5 separate regions of the Homo sapiens genome follow, and all the other regions are linked to region 1. Evidence: promoter capture Hi-C in 16 types of primary human blood cells and fetal thymus (Javierre and others, 2016). All regions are on one chromosome and are shown on one strand. Each heading gives the region's core, a stretch centred on a gene start or on the middle of the fragment in contact. The rest is flanking DNA. Distances are from core to core; before and after follow the strand shown. Region 1 holds the start of NDP (norrin cystine knot growth factor NDP). Region 2 has its middle 8.6 kb from the start of DIPK2B. Region 3 overlaps DIPK2B (divergent protein kinase domain 2B). Region 4 overlaps KDM6A (lysine demethylase 6A). Region 5 overlaps KDM6A (lysine demethylase 6A).

Region 1 (2,809 bases), core at 229-2,728:
CAGCCAAGTGCCAGGTTTTTTTTCAAGGCTTTGAATTTGTCATTTATCCATGATCTTCGCAGGTGGATTCTGTTTGTGACTGGCTGGTCCAAGGTAGACAGGGTATTTTTTTTTCCAAGTGGAGCATAAGAAAAGGGATTTCTGGCAATAAAACTGAAAGTTTTAAGACACCTCTTGCAAATATCAGTGACTGGAGTAAAGGTCCCATGGAAAAGTAATAAGGTGAATGTAAATTTATTAATGAATAACAAATAGTTTGATACAGAGTTGAACAAGACAGTTTCAGCATCAACAATTACATGAAGCTCCCAAGAAAAATTTCTTTTTGAGTTTTATAATGTATTATTTTTTCCACGAAATATATATATTTTAAATTCTCAGTTTAATTCTTCATCAGTAGTATTAATAAAACAAATTATTCTGGGTCTGATTTACCTGACATAAAATAATTATTAAATGTTCTTTGTATTTTCCTCCAAAATCCCTGACGGTTTTCTGTGTTAATTTTAAGCTTTCAAAGGGCAAGAATTATGAAATATTTGCCTTTGTAGTCCCACAGCTCATAACACAGCATGATTCAGCTGCAGGTATTTAACCCACACACATAGTTACCTTTGTCACTTTTCTACTAGTTGTTGTGTAATGGGTTAGCTTTATCTATTAGTTTCTCCTTCATATAGCTCAAGGAGTCAAGGAATACACGTTCTCATTGTTTCTAAATCAGACCTAAAGTTTTATTCTAAATGATGCAGATGAAGGGGCTTATTAAAGTGCCATTGTGAATTTAATCATGTATATGCTGCTAAAAATCATTTAATGGATGAACAACCCGGAAAAAAAGAACTCTCACCACCCACACACATCGTGATAAAATAGGGCAGCGTTTTGCACTTGCTTTAACAGCATCGCCTGAGAAAAAAATTTCTGGTTCCCATCTTTCCCCTCTCTTACTTAAAATTTCAACTTCATCACAGTCAGCTGCCGAATCGTTCAACAGAATGCCACACTGCCTTTGTATTTCCAAAACTATACGTCTCTATTGCGGACGGCACATCTTTATGGCAGCCACATGCTTGAAAAAGAATTAAATTCAGAATATTCATTTGGCCTCTTATTAGTTCCATAATACCATTAAAAAAGAAAGAAAGAAAGAAACTTCCTCGCCCTTGTTCTGCTACGCTGTTCCCATCGTAAGATGCTCCGTGGAAGGGAGCCGAGCGGTGGGCAGAGGCTGAGTCCCCGATAACGAGCGCCTCACATTTCCGTGGCATTCCCATTTGCTAGTGCGCTGCTGCGGCCGCACGCCTGATTGATATATGACTGCAATGGCACTTTTCCATTTGACATTCTCTCTCTCTCTCTCCCTCTCTCTCTCTCCCTCTCTCTCTCCCTCTCTCTCTCTCCCTGTGTCGCTTAAACAACAGTCCTAACTTTTGTGTGTTGCAAATATAAAAGGCAAGCCATGTGACAGAGGGACAGAAGAACAAAAGCATTTGGAAGTAACAGGACCTCTTTCTAGCTCTCAGAAAAGTCTGAGAAGAAAGGAGCCCTGCGTTCCCCTAAGGTAAGCAGGAAAACAAGCGCTGCCGGCTTGCCTAGGAAATCGCTTCTTTCCAAACCGAGCATTTCATCCTCCTCTCAGACAAAGAGACAACCTTTAAATACCACTTAAATTTGCATTACTTTAATTTGCATTAATCTGTAGCATGCTAGCATTGTGTTTCTTAAATGAACGGGTCTTTGAAGTCTGTGACAGAGCAGGGAGCCTCCTAGAAAAGCTTGAAAATATCTTTTGGTTTGACTTAAAGAGATTTTTCTTTTCAAACTCTCTGCGTAGTTAGATGTAACTTTGTGATGGTTCTTATAGTTGACCCCGTGAAAGGGGGCTGCGAAGCAGCAACTTGCCAACATGGATTCATGGAGCCCAGTATCTTCCCCAGCACCCTCATCCCACTTACAATGGGGGCACTATTAACGCAGGCAAGACTGCGAGTTTAAAAGCGCACTGTTTACTTTTATTACTACTTATGTATGCTGCTGATCTCCTGCCAGGGCTCTGCCGGAGTGCTCAGAATGACTTCAAACAATAGGCAACATTTATTTCTAGCTTTCTGTGTCACGCTTTGCAGGAATCCTGCTCCCTTGCACTCTTCTTTCAGCGTGCAGGTCTTCGCTTCCATAGATGCATTGGGGAGCACCGGGAGGAGATGAGGATGGATTTACTGTATGATTTTGATTGGGCAAAAAGTCCGAGGAAATGCATGCTGTTTGCCTTGGACTTATTGCAGGGGGTTATTTTTAGTCATCAGCTCGTCCCTGCAGCATGATGTTCAAGGAGTGACCGGGAAAGGATGCTCCCACCAGCACAGAGACCAGGACCTGTAGGAATGACTCCTACCTGCGGGATATTCCGAGGTTTCTTTCAAACTTTGGAATACAAGTTCTCTCTTTAAATGAACAATTGAGCTGTAGGAGGCCTGGGCATAACTCTTTCTTGGGGGACGGGAAGTTTGATTGTGTACAGAATGTTAATGACTCAGAACGCCCAGTAACTGAGGCTCATTGTAATAGACAAACCCAGATAAGCCTCCATGAGAGGCAGACTCCCATCTTTACTGAGATTCAGGTGCGGGAAAGGAAGCTATTTGGCAAGATGGGAGTCCCTTGTACAGTTCTTTGTAACTCATTAATAACAGATATGGCTGCTGTGAAACATGTCTCTTTTCATTTCTAATATTAGTGTATTTTAATTACAAGGAGCTGGCATTGGCAAATTACCCCAACACATAAGATTAAATACCAGGTGCAT
Region 2 (2,809 bases), core at 94-2,593, 1.2 Mb before region 1:
TCTTCATAGGGAAGAGAGGAGGGAGAATGTAGACAATTTAGGGGAGATTAAATGATTTGAGGGAAAGATAAATAGGCCCCAAGAGGAATAGATGACAGTTTGTGATAGTTTGTCTGGATATAGTGTCAACTTCTAGTTTTCTCTCCTTTGATAGGAGTTGATCTTCTCTGGGTGTTGGATCTCTATTTAGGCAGATAAGGGGAATCCAGAGAAAAGCTCTCCCTGCATTTGCTATTTTTTAAGTACCTTCAGCCTGAAGTGATTATATACCAAAGTGGCATATTTCGCGGTGGCCTTCCTTGAAGTCCTTCAGTGGCTAGCTTTGTTTAATGTCTCATGAAATTTTTCATGACCAATTCAAGCATAATTGTTAAGAACAAGTGATAAGGAGGAGGTGGAGCAAGGTGGCCAAATAGAAGCCTCCATCAATCATCCTCCCCACAGTAACACCAAATCTGACAACTATGTACACAAAAAAGTACCTTCATAAGAGCAAAAAATCAGGTGTATGATCAAAGTACTTGGTTTTAACTTCATATTGCTGAAAGAGGCACTGAAGGGGGTAGGAAAACCCGTCTTGAATTGCTGACACCACCATCCCCATCCCCATGGCAGCAGCCACATGATGTGGAGAGAGAATCTGTGTGCTTAGGGGAGGGAAAATCAGTGACTGTGGGACTTTGCATTGGAACTCAGTCCTGCCAACATCAGGCAGAACTCAGCCAATGCCCACAGAGGAAACATTTAGATCAGCTCTATGCAGAGGGGAACCACCCATCCTAGTGCTCAAAATATGAATTTTGGCAAGCCTCACCACCGTGGGCTAAAGTGCTATGGGATCCTAAATAAACCTGAAATGCTATCTAGGCCACAAGAACTGCGACTCCTAGGCGAATCCTAGTGCTGTGCTGGGCTCGAAGCCAGTGAATGTGGGGGGCATGCAACCTGATGAGACACAGGTTGAGGTGGCTAAGGGAGTGCTTTCGTCACCCCTCCTCCACCTCAAGGCAGTGCAGCTTGTAGTTCCAAAAGAGACCCCTTCCTTCCACTTGAGGAGAGAATAGGGAAGAGTAAATGAGACTTTGCTTTGCAACTTGGATACCACCTCAGCCACAGTAGAATAGAGCACCAAGCAGAGCTGTGAGATTCATTCCAGACCCTAGCTCCCAGATATTTCTGTACACACCCTGGGCCAGAAAGGAACCCACTGCCTTGAAAGGAAGAACCCAGTCCAGGCAAGATTCATCACCATATGACTAAAGAGCCCTTGGGTTCGGAATAACCGAGTGGTAGTGGTAGTAGTGGTAACCAGGTAGTATACGCCGTGGCCCTTGGGTGAGACTCAGACGTGCTGGCTTCAGGTGAGACTTAGCACATTCTCATCTGAGGTGGTTAAGGGGCAAAACTCCTTCTATTTGAGAGAAGTGGAGAGAAGAGTAAGGAGACTTTGTCTTGCATCTTAGGAACCAGCTCAGCCACAGAGAAGTAGAGCACCAAGCAGGCTTTTTAGGGTCACTAATCCAGGTCTTGGCTCTTAGATGGTATGTCTGGACTGACCCTGGACAAGAGAGAAGCCCACTGCCCTGAAGAGTGAGTCCCAGGCCAGGCAGCATTCAGCACAAGCTGATTGAAGAGCCCTTGGCCTTAACTGAATATCAGTGGTACCCTGGCAGTACTTTCTGTGGGCCTGTGATAGTGGTGGACATAGGGATAGACTCCTCTACCTTAGGAAAGGGGAAGAAAGAGTAGGAAGGACTTCATCTTGTGGTTTTTGGTGCCAGTTTAGCTGCAGTATAGTAGAGCACCAGGTAGATTTTTAAGGTTTCTGACTCTGACTCCAGCATCTCTAGATCTTCCTAGGGCCCTGGGAAACTTGCCACCATGAAGGAAAGGACACAAGACTGAATGGCTTCACAAACTGCTGATTGTAGAGACCTAGGACCTTGAGCAAATATAGATGGTAACCAGGTAGTGGTTATAGCGGGCCTTGGGCAAGACCCAGTGCTGAGCTGGCTTCAGGTCTGACCCGGCACAGTCCCAGTGGTATAGTCACAGGAGTGCTTGTGTTACACATCCCTCAGCTCCAGGCAGCTCAGCACAGAGAGAGAAACTCTGTTTGGGAGAAAGTAAGGAAAAAGGACAAGAGTCTCTGGTAATCTAGAGAATTCATCCAGATCTTATCCAAGACCACCAAGGCAGTAACTCTATGAGTCCACAAGAACTACAGCATTACTGGGCTTGGGGTGCCCCCTAATGCAGATATGGCTGCAGTGACCAAAAACTTAGATCACAACACCCAAGTCCCTTCAAAAACCTGGAAAACCTTCCCAAGAACTTCAGGTAAAAATAAGCCCAGACTGTGAAGACTACAATAAATACCTAACTCTTCAATTCCCAGATGCCAAAGAACATCTATAAGCACCAGTACCATTCAGGAAAACATTACTTCATCAAGTGAACTAAATTAGGTGCCAGGGGCCAATTTGGCAGAGACAGAGATATGTGACCTTTTAGACAAAGAATTCAAAATAGCTGTGTTGAGGAAACTCAAAGAAATTCAAGATAACATTCTTGAACATTTCTTTTCAAAGTACCTGGTTTTAACTTCACATTGCTGAAAGAGGCACTGAAGGGGGTAGGAAAATCAGCCTTGAATGGCTTACACCACCACCCCTATCCCCATGGCAGCAGCCACATCATGTGGAGAGAGAATCTGTGTCCTTGGGGGAGGGAACATTTATTTTTAGGGAAGGAAATCAGAATCCTATCAGATAAACTCAACAAAAAAACTGAAATAATTAAAAAAGAA
Region 3 (2,809 bases), core at 154-2,653, 1.2 Mb before region 1:
AGCCCCTTTTTTAAAAAATCAAGGCATCCTTTGTTCTATACAATTCTTCCTTTGATATCTCATTACCTCTATCCTGATGTACTCAGAAAAAAATGCTTTTGCCGTTAAGTGTGACTTGGCCCAGAGGCCTCTGGATTGGCTGTCCCTCTATGCATGTCCACATGCTATGAAGGAATCAAAGGTTAAACTATATAATATATAGTATTTATCTATAAAGAAAGTCACTTGGAAGACATCAGTTAATATAGTGATTGTGTTCTAACACAATATTTGTGGCCTAATAAGCAGAACTTAACCACTATATCAATTGATTGTGCTACCGTGATTGTGTTCTGTGTATTAAGCCACAAAACCCCTCAATACATTTTTTAAAGTAGAAATATTAAAGATCATTTTATCTAATCAAAAGAGAATCACATCAGACATTAACTATAATAGGAAAAAAAAATACCAAAGCAGAAATGTAAAAACATTATCTTTTGAGCCACAGAGCAAATAATTGAAATTGTAATAATATCAGGATAATAACAATGATGAAAACTCTATATTTCCCCAAACTATGATTTAGCCTTTGCCAAATCACTGCTCAGAGGAAAATTGAAAATCAATCCAGGGTTCTGTTAGGCTGCTGTTGACACAAGTTCGGTCATTAATGTGGAGAAATAATACAAAAAGATATTAAAAACGCATATTAATTTGTTCCTAACTCAAGGCCACTTATGGCAGTAATAATTTTTACAATTGTGTTAGCGCTTCTCTCTTAGGATTATCAAGAGGTCTGTGGAAGGCATAATTTATAAACCTTTTGTGTGGGTTAAGCAGGGAATAAATATATTTATTCCTGGTTTATATATGAGAGCAAACCACAGAGCAATATATCAATTTGTTAAAGATCAAAATCTATTTCTACTTACTGAATTACACATATGTCATAGATTCTTGGGGTTGAAATAAATTTGAAAGCTCAGCAATTTGAACTCTAACATATTTGCATCCTTTCTGTAAGGCAAAGGGTCATCTACCGTATCATACAGTGACAGGAAACTCACTACCTTCAGCTTATGCCTTCTTTGGACAGAACAGATACTTGGAAAGTTCATCCCAAATCTGTCTTCTTGTAGCTCTCACTTATGTAAAGTATTTCTACGCCCTGGAATCATACAGATTATACATGACATATGCCCTCCCATACACGCAGCTCCTAAATCCTGGCTTCCCCATTGTAAACATCCCCAGTTCTCTTTTTCATCTCGGCATTCCTCTCATATTGAAGCTTCTTAAATGTTATGTCAACTGAAACCCCTTCTGTAGCTAGATTTTAGTTCACAAGGACAGAACCTTTTGTTTATCCTGTTATATATGATCTTCTTATATTAAATCCATTATTCTAGCCTGTCAACTTGTTTCTGATACTTATCATACCCCGTATCACCCCAAGTACATATTATTCTCAGTTTTGATGAACACAATTTTTATCTATGTCTTAGTCCTCTATAAAAATGTTAACCAGAACAGGGCCAAATAAAAAGCTTTCTTTCTCTATAGGGGTTAATCCGTTAGTTGTTAGGTAAACTCAGTTAACCAATTACTAATCATCTTAATTTTTCTATGCAGCCCAAATCTTGTTTCCCCTTTTGTTTTATAGGGGTCTCATGAGAATCACTGTTGAATGCTTCACTAAAGTTCATATATTCTGTCTATTGAATTTCTCTGATTAAAAATCAAACTACCAGGTCAAAGAAAAAAAAGTTGTTAGTCTGGAATGATTTGATTAAAAGAATCCTCAGTGACTCCTTAAGATCATCATTTCCCCATCTGGAGGCTCACAAATTATCCTATGAATAACCTGTTTTAGAATATTTCCTGTGATCCAGGATCAGCCCACTAATCACTAATTTGTGAAATCTACCCTCTTGCTCTTTTTAAATATCAGAAATGGATTTTCATGCCTTTTCTGTTCTCTGCATTCACTGCCCATGGTTCAGCAATATCATTTGCCAGGTCTCTGTGAATCTCTCAGGCTGGGGAACTCACTCAGAACAATGAAGGCTTCCTTTATTCATTCTGGCTTTTCATTCCTGTTTACCACATTTTGCTTCACCTTTTTCCCATCAAAGTCCCAACACCTGAAAGAGAAAACAAGCAAACATTAGAAATGAAAATCGGGCCTTCATTTTGTTATCCACCAAAATTCTAATGGCCCTATTGTCTTTGCTTTCTTCATACTCTGTGCTTTGTAACATATAGCTATTTTTAAAGATTTTCAATTAAAGTATAAACTGCATACATAAACACATATATCTTAAGTGCATAGCTGGATAAATTTTCACTCGTGTATTTACTCGTGGCCACCATCCATATCAAGATACTGAACATTTCTGGCCCCTCAAAAGGCTCCTTCATGTGCCTTCCCAAAAAAGACCACATTCTAGGGTGACCAACCATCCCAGTTTGCTTAGGACTCTCCCAGCTTTCACACTGAAACCTCTCAGCTGCAGGACAACCTGAACAGTTGGTTACCCTGACCCTTCCCAAAGGTAGCTGCTATTCTGACTTAACTCACCATGGATTAGTTTTACCTGTTTTTGAACTTCATTTAAATGGAATCGTACAATATGTACACAACACATCATGCTATTTATCCATGTTGTTGCGTGAATCCGTGGTTGGTGTTCTTTTTCACTGCAGTGTGTGAAACAACACCGCTCTGTGATGGTTTCACACTGTATGCATTCTGCTGTTGATGAACATTTGGGCTGTATTTAGTTTGCACTATTGTGAATTAAAGTTGCTACAGACATTATTGTAC
Region 4 (2,809 bases), core at 310-2,809, 1.1 Mb before region 1:
ATGCCTGTAATCCCAGCTACTCAGGAGTCTGAGACAGGAGAATCGCTTGAACCTGGGAGGCAGAGGGTGCAGTGAGCCAAGATCGTGCCACTGCGCTCTAGCCTAGGCGACAGATGGAGACTCCGTCTCAAAATACACATACGTACGTACATACATACATACATACATACATACATACATACATACATATATACATACGAGACAACTGGAGAACACTTACAAAGTATTTTATGTAACATAAAATGATGAGATGCATATAAAAGTAATGTGTCCTTTCAAAACTCCAAAGTAAAATCATCTTTAAAATCCTAAAATAATCTTTAGGATACAAATACTTACTCTCAATGATTCCTGGAATGAGGAGGCCTGGTACTGTGCATATTTAGCAATTGTAGTATGAGATCTATTACTTTCACAATGCCAGATTTTCTTTGTTCCAGTGGGATCCCAGTTTTCATCTGCTGGCTGCAACAACTGTGTCCTCACTTCTACCATATGTTCATTGTTAGCTTCCACCAAAGTTTTAGTAGAGAAAAGTCCCAGGTCTTCATGAATACATAAATGTAGTTAAAAAATGAAAATTATATTTGGGATAATATTTTAAGTGCTTTTTTTTTTTAAAGGAAGAAGGTAAAGCATTTTACGGCACTGTATCCAGTTCCCATAAAAAACTAGGGCCTCTGCACAACCTGAGCTATGTGCCAAGTTTGCAGAACCATACGCTGAAGCCCTGAATCTAACTGCTATGTCATCCCATCCGAGAAAGAATTAAGTGTGAAAGGACTGAAATTTCACTTATTTATTTAATTTCTGCAGATGCCAGGAAATACTTATGGGGCTATAGTATTTATTAGTAGCATCAAATTTCACCTACATTTTATAATCAAATTTTTTCTATTAACCTAAATCACAATTATGTAAACGGACCAAAGTAATAGCTAAATTTAAAAACCTCCACCAAATTGTCAGTAACCAGTATCACCAACAATATATTCACATCATGGATTAAAGAAGTGATACACACACTCTCTCTCATTCTTAGTACTAAAAAAAAGTAAAATTAAAATACAAAAAAAGAAAAAAAAAGAAAAAAGAAAAAAAAGAAAAGTATCTGCCAGTGCTGGAAAAGTTAAAAGATAGCAAAACAAAGAGACAAACGTTTTCCTTTTTTAATTTAAGGCTTACCTAACTTAAGAGCTCCAGCAAGGCCACGTATTACTGTAACAGGGTTGTTCGGATTTGTACAAAATTGATGTAATGGAGGAAAGAAAGCATCACGTTTATTTTCCAACTGTAAAATTAAAATATGTGGTTAGATCTCAGGAAAACAGAGCTTTTATTTAAATATTATGCTCCAAATTAATATTCATTATTTTTCACAATTTAAATAACGCATTTTATGGGGTGATATTTCTATTTGACAGTATCTTATCACTGTGACTTTTGATTCTAGTTTTAATCAGATAGTAACCACATACATTTCTCCTTTCCATTTTATCATGACAAAAATATGTAGGAGAAATGAAACTGAAATTAAACTTCAAAATCAAAGTGTTTTAAATATTATTCAGTCTTAAAATGAAAAGACAATCTTGACACATGCTGCAACATGGATGAATCTTGAGGACATTATGTTAAGTGAAATAAGCCAGTCACAAAAAGACAAATATTGTATGGTTCCACTTACATGAGGTATCTAGAATAGTCAAATTTATAGAAACAGAAAGTAGAATGGTAGTTGCCAGGGGCTGGCAGGAGGGAGAAATGGGTAGTTGTTCAGTGTGTAGTTTCAGTTTGTCAAGATGAGAAAGTTCTGGAGATTGGTTGGACACCAATGTGAATATGCTTAACAGTACTGAACTGCACACTCAGAAATGGGTAAGATGGTAAATTTTATGCTATGTGTTTTTAAAAAATCACAATATAAGAGAGGAAAAGAAAAAAAATTATGCCTAAACAAATATTATCAAAGAAAGCAGACTGAAGAGGACCCATAAAAGATAAAAACTTAATTTTGCATTTTTTTTTCTCCTCAGAGCTCACTTTACAAGTTTTTTTACATGTCTATCCCAGTGCTTCCCTTACATAGTAAGGGATAAACAACAACTGGTTGGAGGAAGAATTAATATGATAATATTTGGCCTCTAGAGGGCAAGGGGGTTAAATCTATAAAACAAACTCTAGTACCATTTTATAGATGCAAGATCATTATACATATACTACCCTAACTTTATACTTACAAAATTTTAATTTGGGATAGAAGCAGGAAAATGAAAGGAAATAGGATAGGAAGATCTATTTGGAAGAAACAGAAATAGGAATTGTTTTGATTGAACTGCTAATGACTTCCTATATCAGATTCCTATATTTCTATAAAGTAAAACTAGTATCTAGTTTTAAATGTTTTAAATAACCTATTAAGTTTTTTTAGTCACATATATCTACTATCACACTTATGTTCTCAAACACTTATTTTGAAGGTAGTATCTTTTTTGGGGGGGTAGATGTATAAAACAGAATGAATGTTAAGGTCCACATAACTAAGTAGAATGTGGATTTAAAACCCAGTTTACTAAAAAAAGTTACACTTTTAGGTAGCTTTTTCCTAACGCTGCTCAAAATTAGGGCAATAAAAAATGTTTCTCATGATTCTAATATCATCACAGTTAATAGCTGAGAAGGTCCTTTAAAAATGCTATTACAAAATCTTCTTGAATATATCTTCCCCCCCGCCCCCAAACTATTTAATCTGCTGCCAATAATTGTAATGTTTCCTAAAGGGCATCCATGTAAATTTAAAGATTTTATG
Region 5 (2,809 bases), core at 12-2,511, 1.1 Mb before region 1:
TATCTGGTCAAACACACTGTCTTCTGACCAACAGTCACACACTCCAAGATGAAGTCCTTTAATAAGCTTGAGAAATATAAGAATGAACTAAGCATTCATCTGAACAAGATTTACTATGAGTTCTTTGTAATAGATGGGCATGAAATTTTACTCATCCATACAGTATTCTTAGGTATTCACAGAGAAAACTCTTGAAGCTTAAAAATATATTGACAAGTATGCTAAAAGCAGCACTGTCTGGAATAAGCAAAGTCTGAAGACAACCTGAATGTCCAAAATTACTGATCTGCTTAAATAAAGGTGTTACATCTATATAAAGAAATATGATGTAACCATAAAAGAACAAGGAAGCTCTTCACATATTGACATGCAGAAGTCTGTAAAATATGTTGTTAACAGCAAATAAGAATCCTATCATTTGTGTAAAAAAGAAGAAAAATAATAATACATGTGAGAAAGGGGGGGATGTATATTTGCTTGTACATACATAACATACCTCTGGAATGATAGATAGGAAATTAGTAATACCAGCCACATTTTGAGTGGGTAGGGGCCAGAGTTAGAAGAAAACTTTACCCTATATACCCTATATTTATACTTTATGTAGTGTAAACCATGTCCTGTTTAAAAAAAAAAAAAGAAATTAAAAACAAGAATGAATGCTCTTCATTATTCTGGTAAATGCAGGCTCATTTTACTTTTGTGCATTTTAATTGAATGTACTGCCATTTAACTTATAAGAATTAATACTTAGGGCTGGGTGCAGTGGCTCACACCTGTAATCTCAGCACTTTGGGAGGCTGAGGTAGGTGGATCACTTGAGGTCAGGAGTGCAAGACCAGTCTGGCCAACATGGCGAAACCCAGTCTCTACCAAAAATATAAAAATTAGCGGGGTGTGATGGTGCGTGCCTGTAATCCCAGCTACTCTGGAGGCTGAGGCACAAGAATAACTTTAACACAGGACGCGGAGGTTGCAGTGAGCCAAGAGCGTGCCACTATACTCCAGCCTGGGTGACAGAGCAAGACTCTATCTCAAAAAAAAAAAAAAAAAAAAAAAAAATTAATACTTGTTTGCTACCTCTACTCCTTTTTAATAAACAATTTGTCAAAAACATCTTACATACCTGTAATTTCTGTGGTGTCAAACACCATGAATGAGCTTGTTGCTGTACTGGAGGATGTGACACAGCATGTCCACCACTCCAATTGTCAGAAGTATTCTGAGGAAAATCGATTTAAAAAAAAAATTAAAGAATATTTGGTTAAATCCACAGTTAATAATAATGGTTAGAGGAGGCCAAATGACTATGAATTGGAATATTTACATGTTAAAAAGATGTTATAACATTAAATTCTTTAAAAAATAATTTTACATGCATATTAAACTTAGAAATCATACATTTAAAAATTACTGACTATTTAATAAGCCACCCAAAAAGGCCCACCCTCAAACTATGGCCCAAACGGCTAGCCTAAACACCACACTGTCCACTAGATCCAACATTAAATTTATTTCAATGTCAGTAAAAAGTGATGATGAAAAGTGTGCTGGGATCTTAACGGCAGGGAGATGAATAAAATGATTTGATGAATGCAAATTTATCCCTACTTTCTATATTTAATATGATACTAAGGGTTTGGGATGGAAAAACTCAAACCTTTCACTCTTTGATGTCCACAAATTTAAAATAAAGGACAGGAAATGTTCAAACTGCACAATTTCAGGGCAGCTGAAACTTCTTTTTTGACTGGGATTTTCTATTTCTCTAAAACATATACCTTTGTTGGACTAGATGTTCTTTTCCTCTTGGCAGGACTGGACAGGTCATCTACTTGGCTAGAAGGAATCATGTGTAGTGGCAAGGATTGCTGTGAAATTGGTGTTTGACTGAGGCCTAATACAGGTTCAGTATTTGGATGATGAGGTTTACATGCCTAAGAATCACAGAAGGAAGACAAAAATAGGGTTCTATATATTCTTAATTCATTCCTTCAAATTATAAAACTTTACAAGCTGCATACTTTTCAAAGCTATGTGGACATCGCTGATTGCAATGATTGAAAATCAAAATTAAATGATTCATCAATGGAATAATGTGTACCTTCCTTTGAAAAACTTGCCTTAAAAATTAAACAAACCACTGTAGCATTATTTTAAGAAATCTCCTTCAAAATCATGAAAATGCACAAAGGTTCTAAGTTGGTACCCCAAAATCTCTTCCCATATTAGAGGGAATTTTATTTTGATCTAGATTCCCTTTGCAATTAAATCAAAAGGCTTTTCATTACTAAAAGCCTCCTGTGCTTAGTAAATTAAGCTTGACCACTAGAGAATTGAAAAGAACCCTTAAAGCTGGGCACCTGCAGAACATAACCCAACTTCTCACCTGCTGTGCTGTGTTCATGGCACCCTGCCTGGAGGTAAGCTCTGCGGGAATTGGTAGGCTCCACGCCTCCTCAATACTAGGAAGTAATTTAGTTTTATTCTGTAGACTACCTTGTGGAAGGTTACACAACTGAGCCTAGGAAAAATTATGTAAAAAGCAAATTTAACACAAGCCTACTTGAGTAAGAGCAAGTCCACTAAATCTTCCTAAATGCTATAGCTAATTGTTTTTAAAAGAAAATAGATTCTAAATTTGGGGCTTTAGAAGACACTAAGTATAAACAGGGTAACCGGAATATAAACCTTTGTGAGAATCAAAACAAAGCTGAGCTCTGTTTTCAGAGTTCTCATAGCTGTCTTCTCAAGAAACTCCAAGCAAGAGTGAAAGACTGTTTGTGTTTTCTATAAAATGCTATGACAA

What was found. The method cuts DNA at HindIII sites, captures the fragments that hold promoters and counts their contacts. A CHiCAGO score of 5 or more calls a contact.
Region 2: a fragment that was not itself captured here is called in contact with the fragment with the promoter of NDP in region 1 in 4 of 17 cell types (erythroblasts, naive CD8 T cells, total B cells and 1 more); the score reaches 6.7 in erythroblasts.
Region 3: a fragment that was not itself captured here is called in contact with the fragment with the promoter of NDP in region 1 in 1 of 17 cell types (fetal thymus); the score reaches 5.3 in fetal thymus.
Region 4: a fragment that was not itself captured here is called in contact with the fragment with the promoter of NDP in region 1 in 1 of 17 cell types (naive CD4 T cells); the score reaches 6.7 in naive CD4 T cells.
Region 5: a contact is called between a fragment that was not itself captured here and the fragment with the promoter of NDP in region 1, in 1 of 17 cell types (total CD4 T cells). The highest score is 6.0, in total CD4 T cells.

What each region holds. Positions count from the first base shown.
Region 1 is chrX:43,972,059-43,974,867 of GRCh38, reverse strand. It overlaps NDP (norrin cystine knot growth factor NDP), which reads left to right and starts at 1,478. Exons shown (of 3, transcript NM_000266.4): 1 at 1,478-1,564. The HindIII fragment of the contact is 1,267 bases long and covers 514-1,780 here.
Region 2 is chrX:45,208,080-45,210,888 of GRCh38, reverse strand. No RefSeq gene overlaps it. Among named protein-coding and RNA genes, the nearest start is that of DIPK2B, 8.6 kb to the right of the region's middle. The HindIII fragment of the contact is 3,604 bases long and covers 1-2,809 here.
Region 3 is chrX:45,182,570-45,185,378 of GRCh38, reverse strand. The region is part of intron 2 of DIPK2B (divergent protein kinase domain 2B); the gene reads left to right. Among named protein-coding and RNA genes, the nearest start is that of DIPK2B, 17 kb to the left of the region's middle. The HindIII fragment of the contact is 256 bases long and covers 1,276-1,531 here.
Region 4 is chrX:45,076,882-45,079,690 of GRCh38, reverse strand. KDM6A (lysine demethylase 6A) reads right to left here. Exons shown (of 30, transcript NM_001291415.2): 20 at 1,186-1,291; 21 at 340-545. Among named protein-coding and RNA genes, the nearest start is that of DIPK2B, 120 kb to the left of the region's middle. The HindIII fragment of the contact is 5,581 bases long and covers 1-2,809 here.
Region 5 is chrX:45,059,737-45,062,545 of GRCh38, reverse strand. It overlaps KDM6A (lysine demethylase 6A), which reads right to left. Exons shown (of 30, transcript NM_001291415.2): 13 at 2,390-2,524; 14 at 1,782-1,937; 15 at 1,127-1,222. Among named protein-coding and RNA genes, the nearest start is that of DIPK2B, 140 kb to the left of the region's middle. The HindIII fragment of the contact is 2,123 bases long and covers 200-2,322 here.